3 separate regions of the Homo sapiens genome follow, and all the other regions are linked to region 2. The links are contacts of gene promoters, found by promoter capture Hi-C in blood cells and fetal thymus (Javierre and others, 2016). All regions are on one chromosome and are shown on one strand. Each heading gives the region's core, a stretch centred on a gene start or on the middle of the fragment in contact. The rest is flanking DNA. Distances are from core to core; before and after follow the strand shown.

What was found. Contacts are between HindIII fragments. The CHiCAGO score rates a contact against its expected background, and 5 or more counts as called.
Region 1: a fragment that was not itself captured here is called in contact with the fragment with the promoter of MRO in region 2 in 1 of 17 cell types (neutrophils); the score reaches 5.9 in neutrophils.
Region 3: a fragment that was not itself captured here is called in contact with the fragment with the promoter of MRO in region 2 in 1 of 17 cell types (neutrophils); the score reaches 6.2 in neutrophils.

Annotation. Positions count from the first base shown.
Region 1 is chr18:51,170,678-51,173,471 of GRCh38, forward strand. No RefSeq gene overlaps it. Among named protein-coding and RNA genes, the nearest start is that of MEX3C, 26 kb to the right of the region's middle. The HindIII fragment of the contact is 2,745 bases long and covers 1-2,656 here.
Region 2 is chr18:50,818,729-50,821,428 of GRCh38, forward strand. MRO (maestro) reads right to left here and starts at 1,288. Exons shown (of 8, transcript NM_031939.6): 1 at 1,169-1,288; 2 at 853-974. RefSeq lists enhancers at 973-1,606, 1,443-1,492. The HindIII fragment of the contact is 17,012 bases long and covers 1-2,700 here.
Region 3 is chr18:51,192,681-51,195,380 of GRCh38, forward strand. All of the region lies in intron 1 of MEX3C (mex-3 RNA binding family member C), which reads right to left. Among named protein-coding and RNA genes, the nearest start is that of MEX3C, 3.6 kb to the right of the region's middle. RefSeq lists a silencer at 2,019-2,313. The HindIII fragment of the contact is 2,119 bases long and covers 306-2,424 here.

The sequences.
Region 1 (2,794 bases), core at 34-2,533, 350 kb after region 2:
CACTTGGAATCACCTGCTTAGGAAAACATAAAAGACGACTGACTCAAGAGTTCTCACAAGTTTCTAGTCATGAGAATAAGATCTTTTCATTGGATTATGTGTGGTTCAAGAAAAGCCACTGGGAACAGTCCAAGAGAAGCAGATTTTGGAGTTTGCTTTCTCAAATTCAAATGAGATGGCAGCTCTCAGAATATGAATTCTGAGAACCTTCACCCATCCACTGATGACACAAACTTAGAAAGATCTGCCTAGCCTCTAGATAACTAGAGCTTCCAGGATTTTTTAAAAAACATCCTAAGTAGGCTGGGCACAGTGGCTCATGTTTGTAATCCTAGCACTCTGGGAGGCCGAAGCTGGAGGATCGCTTGAGGCCAGCCTGGGCAACACAGTCTATCTGTCCAGTATTTCTCTGTTGTTTTAAATGGTCTTTCAGAAAATTTTACTTCAACAATACTAATAATTTTTCAATAGGTATTGCTATTTATTAACTCTATGATCACATTCTCCTGTCACCTAATAAACCTGGCTAATTTACACATGTTGGGCATTAGCCAAATCCACAAATTATCAAGTATTCCCTCAATCCTTTTTGAAATTTTAGCTTTCTAGAGACAGGGTCTCCCTGTTACCCAGGCTGCTCTTGAACTCCTGGGCTGAAGTGATCCTCCAGCCTCGGCCTTCCGAAGTGCTGGGATTATAGGCATCAATCAGCCACTGCACCTAGCCCTAGTTTTATCGTTAAGGTATAATGCCTAGCACTTCACATCTGACTCAAGTAGACTTGAAACCACTACCCATTCATGTCCCTTGTGATACTTTGGTAATTTCCCTGAAATTGCAGAAACAGATCATGTCAAAAGTTCCACTCAGTGTTTCTGATCTTGAAAATGTCATGAAACAGATATAAAAGCCTTAATGCTTTAATATAGGGGAATATCTACATTTTATTTCCAAATTTTAAGTAATTACACTCAGTTTCAGGATTAAATCAGAAACCCTCAGATTTTCCATTTTGAATACAGGCAAACTATTGCTGACTTATCCAAGAAGATTCTAATTTAGAAGAACCACCATCTGACTTACTTTATGGTACAGGTCATGTTTGTATCCTTAAGTTTTGTGCAGCCCTGAAGATGGTGTGACTGATTTGTCCCATCCTCATGCTCCATATTAATATATGCAGTAAATTATGCATAACACTGCTAGCAGCTTTGGGTAAACTGAAATGTTACTGGTAGGAATTGAGCAGATTTATATAATCTTGATTCTCATTTACTGCCTCTTCTTAAACTAGCAAGCCTCTTCTTACTAAGCCAGTTCTTTTCAGTTTTTGTTTTAAACTCAGCTGAATACTGTAGTTCCTTCTTAAAACTTCCACATTACAAAAGGAAAGTACTTACGCACATGCTTTTAGAGATTGAAGATTTATCATTTAAAACACATTCAAAGGCAGCAGGAAGTCTATTTTTACAGCTCATTTAGTAATCAAGTTACAAATATCCCCATTTTCCATGAGACTAATGAGGATCTAAACTCACCCCAAGGGCTTAGAAATGTGTGGTTTCTCTTCAGCCATTTTCCCTCCCAATTCCAATCTCTGACCAGTGAACTCCATTTACTATTTAAAATATCTAATCACTTATCCTCCTTATGAAGTTTTCCTGACTGGTGTACAAATGCTATCCTTTAAAATGCAGATAAATGAATATGGAGGCAGTAGAAAATCTCAATGGCGGGAACATTTCTTTCACAATTTTCAATTATTCCATACAATCAGCTGAAGAAACTTAATAGGAAGAGTTACTCTGATATACCCGAGGGGGAAGGTATGCCACTTTAAAGAGAACAGCTATTTTAAATCTTTACTAAATTGAATCTCCTCCTGAGGCATCTCAATGTCCTTCCCTGTATTTCATCAGGGCTCCACTGCCCATAGTTACTTCGATTAGTCACTAAGAGCAAATGGTTAAGTTACGAGATAGCCAGAAAAGAGAATATTACTGCTACCATTAAATTACGTTGTAGAAGTATACTGACAAGGAAAAGATGTTCACAGTGTATTATAAACAAACATCCCCAATCTCCATTATTTATAAAAAGTTTTAGAATGAGAAAAGTAGAAATTTAAGGGATAGAAGGGGCAGGTAGCAGACTGAGAACGAGTGTCTGGTTTTGGGCTAACAGATTCACTGAATAATCTGTAAAAACACGTTTACTACCCCTATTTTATACCTGTTTTTTATTATTCTAGCCTCCATTCTTGCTAAGTCTACTTTGCAAAGGGATTCCTTTGATATAAAGTCTTTTACAGGAAGAATTATAGAACACTACAATAACTGAGCAGCTAGCCAAACCTGTTTTCAGTTTAGCATCCACCTTTCCAGGTTGTGAAAATGGAATAAGGTAAAGGTCTCACAATAGGTTTGCCTAATTCTTGGTTATTCACATTGCAGATTATCCAGTGTGGTATGGCTACTTCGTGTAACATAGGCCCACAGATTTCCTGAGGTCTCTCTTCCCCAGTACTTAAGTAAACAAGAAAAACAACACAGGCACACAGGGAAAGGCAGATCCAGACTTAGAACCAAAGTTAAGTGCTTATCAGTTTTGCTAACATTGGTTCCATACAAGTTTTGGCTTACTCTGGGACAAGGAAAGCTTCTAAAATAGAGATTATTTTCAAGGCCCCCTGAAAGATTTTGACCAAGCATTAGGTAAAAGTTAATTCACAAGTCATCCAATCTAAACAGGAATTGTACAAATACTGTAACATATCCAAATAATTAGACTACTA
Region 2 (2,700 bases), core at 38-2,537:
TAAAAATCCTTCCAACACTGAACTTATAAATGACAATAGTAGGCTGCGTGTGGTGGCTCATGCCTATAAATCCCAGCATTTTGGGAGGCTGAGGCAGGCAGATTGCTTGAGGTCAGGAGATCAAGACCAGCCTGAGCAACATGGTGAAACCCCGCCTCTACTAAAAATACAAAAATTAGCCAGACATGGTGGTGCACACCTGTAGTCCCAGCTACTCAGGAGGCTGAGGCAGAAGAATCACTTGAACCCAGGAGACAGAGGTTGCAGTGAGCCGAGATCGGGCCACCGCACCCCAGCTTGGGCAACACAACAAGACCCTGTCTCAAAAAAATGAAAAAAAAAATTAATATTAAAAAAATCGTCTTCATTTTAGAAAAGAAGAAACTGGGCTTAAAGTAATGTTGAACAATTAACTCAAAGTCAAATACTGGCAGAGCAGATTTTAGGACTCTGAAAGATATCCTTTCAGTCACTGTGCTATAAGCCTAGGTTCAGCTCCCAGGCAATGTCCTGTGAGCTGAACGAGGGAAGACAGACCGCATAGACATTTCAGTTTAAAGTGTCAATATCTTCCCTGAGTCCCTGCCATTCTATTATATTGCTGACAATAGAATGATCTATAACCCAACTATTGATCGATTAACATAGTTTGTGAAAAGCAAACAAAATCAGCTTCCTGGTCAACATTGCCCACTTCAGTTTTACAAAGAGAACATTACCAAATCCTACCCCCTAGAGGTCGAGCTCCCATACTGGTGACCAGAGTGACATTCCAGAAAGGTTTTGGGAACCCAAGTGCAGCCAGGACGCCTCCCGCTGCATCTGGCTGCCCCGGCCAACAGTGTCCCTTACCTGCGGCTCCTGCAGGCGGCTGCCACGTGATGAACCGGAGCCCGTTCCTGACTCGGGAGGGCTGCTTTCCCGGGTAGTAGCCAAATGTGATGACTCGGCTAAATTTTCCCAGCCCTGAATTCCTAACATACAAGAAGGGAAATTAGGAGGTGACGCAGGGTCTGTCCAGGATAACGGGTCGGCACAGAGTGTTGGAAAGTGAGAATCAAATAAGAGGGGAAAGTCAAAGTTTATAGAGTATTTGGGCAGGGGAGGGAATTGTTCTGGAATGAAACCGACAAGAATATTGTAGGGTGGCACAAGCATGACTTGCTACCTTTGCTTCCCCACGCCATGCTGAGGTGTTTTTCCTTCTCCTTGCTGTGATTTCCCCTCCTTCTTCCCTCATGCCAGCCTGGTCGACACTTTCTGCAGAAATTCTGCAGATGGCAATTCTGGGGACCTTTCCTCTGCACCAAACAAAACCTCCCTGCCAAGGCCCGTTCCCCATGCGGCCGCGAGATGGCGGCATGACTCAATGGACGGGTTCCAGGCGACCCCTGCACAAAGCCGCCGCCGTGGCTGCCTCCTTCCTTACATAATCCTGTTAGAGCGCATTTAATCTAAGGATGGGACACTGTGTTCCATGCCAAGCAGCCTCATCGTGGCTGATTGTTGCACCAACAACAAGAGCTTTAACCGTTGACGTCCCTTCCTGCTCAAGAAACACCGTATGTCCCGAAAGGAGCGATTTAAGCTCTCAAAATGATTTATTGGTAAAAAGCAAAGCAAAATTAAAACCGGGGAATTACAGCACCTGCAGAATTTAGGAGCCTCTCTCTCTCATCAGCCCTCCTTCCCTGACTCTCCAAACACGTGCATAAATCTATTTAACAATAATTAGTTATCGTCTCGCTCTGCATTGGGTCATAAAGGGAGAAAATATGTCCTGAAAGGAAAAAAGAACAGTTATATTTTCAAAGACAGAGGCACTTATTGTTATGCTAATAGATAACATTCAATTAAAACTTCTGTGTGCCAAATGTTGTGATAAATATTACATAGACTATCTCATTCAATTGTTACATCAAACCAAAGGTTAATACTCCTACTATAGTCTCCATTTTAAGGCTGGAGAAACTGAGGCACAGGGAGATTACCTTGACAAAGGTCATGCAGTTAATTTGTGGCAGTTAAAATTCAGCTACAGGCAGGCTAATGTAAGAGCTTGGACTCAGCCATGATGCTATGCACTGGACTGGTCTAGAAAACCCAGGAGATAAACAGAAAAATATAAACCAGAGAACTATGTCAGAGTGGAAGATGAAAGAAAAAGGCAGAAAGAAAATCGATGCTGCTGAGAAAATAAGAAGAATGAGGCTAAAACACCACCCTCTTCAGATTAAGTTACAAGGGAACCACTGTGACATTTGAGGACACAATTTCAATAGAGTGACAGAGAAAGGAAGCTAGACTGCAAAACTAAGGGGCTATGAGGAAAGAGGAAATTGAGATGTCTTGCTGCAAAAGGAAAGCAATAAATAGACTAGAAGAGACAGCAAGGTCAGGCAAAAGCATTTTGGTTTTCTTGTGTGCTTTTTGAAATGGAATAAAGCCTGGCCTTGTTTGAAAGTGGTTGCAAGGGAGCCCTAATATGTGGCTGGTGCCAAGTAGTGGTAATAGGAAGAGGTGGAGGGGGCATCAAGGGCACGAGGGAAAGGGTTAGCTCTGGAGGAGGAAGAAAGATGGCTGCCTCTGCCTGCAACTGGGAGGCAGCCACAGAGATGAAGATACATCAACACAAAACTGAGAGGAATGGGCGAGTTCAATTCTTCCAAATTAGCTTTAATCTTTTCAGTAAAACCAGAG
Region 3 (2,700 bases), core at 115-2,614, 370 kb after region 2:
TGGCAATGTAGAGTACAAAGAATTTTATTTCTGATGTCAAACTATGCTAAATCCAATCTCAACTATTTGAGCAAGTTAGCTCTCAGAACCTCTGTTTCTACCTCTCTAAACGGCAGTAACCACCTAGCAGGGTTAAACGGCACTGGTGAAGCACCTAACATAGTACTAAGCAAAGAGAAGTCCAACAATGCACCCTCATCCCCATAAAAGAAAAAGACACTGTGCTGTAGCATCATTCTGAAACTATTTATTCTCATGAAATATGTACTTCTCCTTGAAGAGAAAATTTATGTACAGCAAGACCAAGCTTTCTCTTTTTCTCCTGGTCACAGACGTATAAACCCTATTTCAGTTGTGTTAGAGCTTGAAGGGTGGTTCCACCCTAAGAAATTGGGAAGACAAATTGAAACAGTGTAAAGTATTAATTGTTAATAAAGAATTTTGTTTTATAATGTGTAATATATTAAGCACACTTACTATTCATACATAAATATCCAGATATTGGGAGTATGCACATTTTTTTTGGACAGGGTGTACAATAAAAAGAAGCTAGAGACGACTTTTCTAGACTATGTGGCTAGAGAACACACATAGACCATTAATTAAAGTCTAATGAAAGATACACATTTATCCTAATAGTAATACAAAATCTTGGGTTACAAGTCTCTAAACAACTGAATTTATGACATTTAGTATTAATTTATAATGTATTAAGAATGGGTATACAGTTCTATTTTAATTCACTTTTTAGTCTAAATGGATATAAATGACTGTACAAATTGGAACAAAACCTGCTGACTAAAATTAGACCTGTTAATCACTGTTAATATGTCTTGCAGGTACTATACTTAAAAACAGAGACGTTCTAAGTTTATAAAATTAGGTCTTAAAATCTGTTGTCAGGTTTATTTTTGATGTCCATATTCTAAAACTTCTTTGATTATATCAACAAGCCTCTTCAGTTCCTGGCTTTATTTTACAGTATTGTTGTTTCACAACAGATGCAATGCTTTAAAAAACAAGGCCAATTTAACATTTACAAATGACCATATGCTACTGGGGAGTATAAATTCGAGGTCAAACACTCTGCCAACTTTCATCAGTATCAAAAGCGGTAGTTTGTGTTTTAGAAAAACACTGGAACTCAGAGGCCATCTACATGAGTTGCTAGTCTATGTGACTCAGAATTCCATTTGTCCTGCTCTTTGCTTCAGAGCTGAAGTCATAAATGTCTCCATCTGTGACATAATTATTTCCAAAATCAATTAAGAGATGTCAAATAGAAAATTATGGCTTCAGGTAATACATAAAATGGCAGAAATGGATAATTTAATCTTAAGGATGAAAGTTTAGCTCCTTCAAAGCAAACAAGAAAATGAAATGATTTGCCCTGTTTTACTTACTTAGGACAGATTCTCTCCCGTGGGGAAATATAATACTGTAAAAGAATGTGAACATTAGAAGTCACTTCGTTCTCCATACGAGTGAGCAAACACTTTACAGGTTTATTACTATGCTGCTGGGACATGGGGGTGGCAAAGGGGTCAATGATCCACAAGTTGTATGGTTCAGAACAGCAAAAGGACCAGATTTTCTGCTTTTAAGATAGAGGATGATGACATACTTTTAACAGTATTGTCAACTCTGGGAAAATACAAGGTTTAAATGGAAGAGCCAGCAATTTGTCTCCATGATCTAAGACATAATTAAATTCAACATTTCCTTATTAACCAAATAAACACAGCCCTCAAAAGAAAAACTAAGGCTTTATCTCATTTCCTATCACGTAATAGCTGGTACAAAATAAAAACTTGGAATTCACTTTACTTTTAAAAAACTGATTTCTATAAAGATTAACAACATACACAAGTAAGGGCCATTTAGCAGTGCTTTAAGGGGTGTCTACTATAATGAAGGACTAAAGTTTGTATTAAACTAAATCTATAAAATATGTTATCTTGTCCTTCAGTAAAACTGGCACGTAAATGTTTTCTTCCTTTGTTACCCTAGACTGTTACCATAAGCACACGGAAGCAACTTGTCCTGAGAAGTGGCATCTTCATATGGCATTCAGGCTTCTTCACATTCTGGTGTGAACGCCTGCCTTCCCCCTTTTCCACCACTCCCCTTTACAGACCTCAAGTATCAAAACAACACTACTTGGCAATTATACCTAGGCTAGTCCTCCACACCCCTCCTCACATTGTTCCTCCACAGTTTTTCAATCTCCATTTGTTAGACTCCTTCCTACCCATTTTCCAAGGCCCTCTCCATAGATGTTCTCTTACCTGAGACTTTGTCATACTAAATACACTATAGTTAGTGCCATTCTACTGTTTATTAGACTGTTATCTTCTTAAGGGCAGAAAGTCTGAATTAACTTCACATTCTCAATACCACAAACTCAAAACCTGGCAAAATACAAGCTTGGTACATAGCGATTCCTCAGTGTTCTTACATGAATGGTCAACTCATTCTGATCCAAATTGAGATGTTGTAATTTTATCCCATGTAAACAAAAGTTTTCTCCTGGATTATTACTCTAAGTATCGCCAAAACCAAACAATCCAGGAATCTGAAACTCATTAACCAGAAGAACGACAAGCATAAGCTACCTTTCAATTGAAAGGTCCAGCTTTGAACAGTGTCTGTAAGTGCCAATCATCAGGCAGTCTGAACTAAGCTATCTCCTTTATCCAG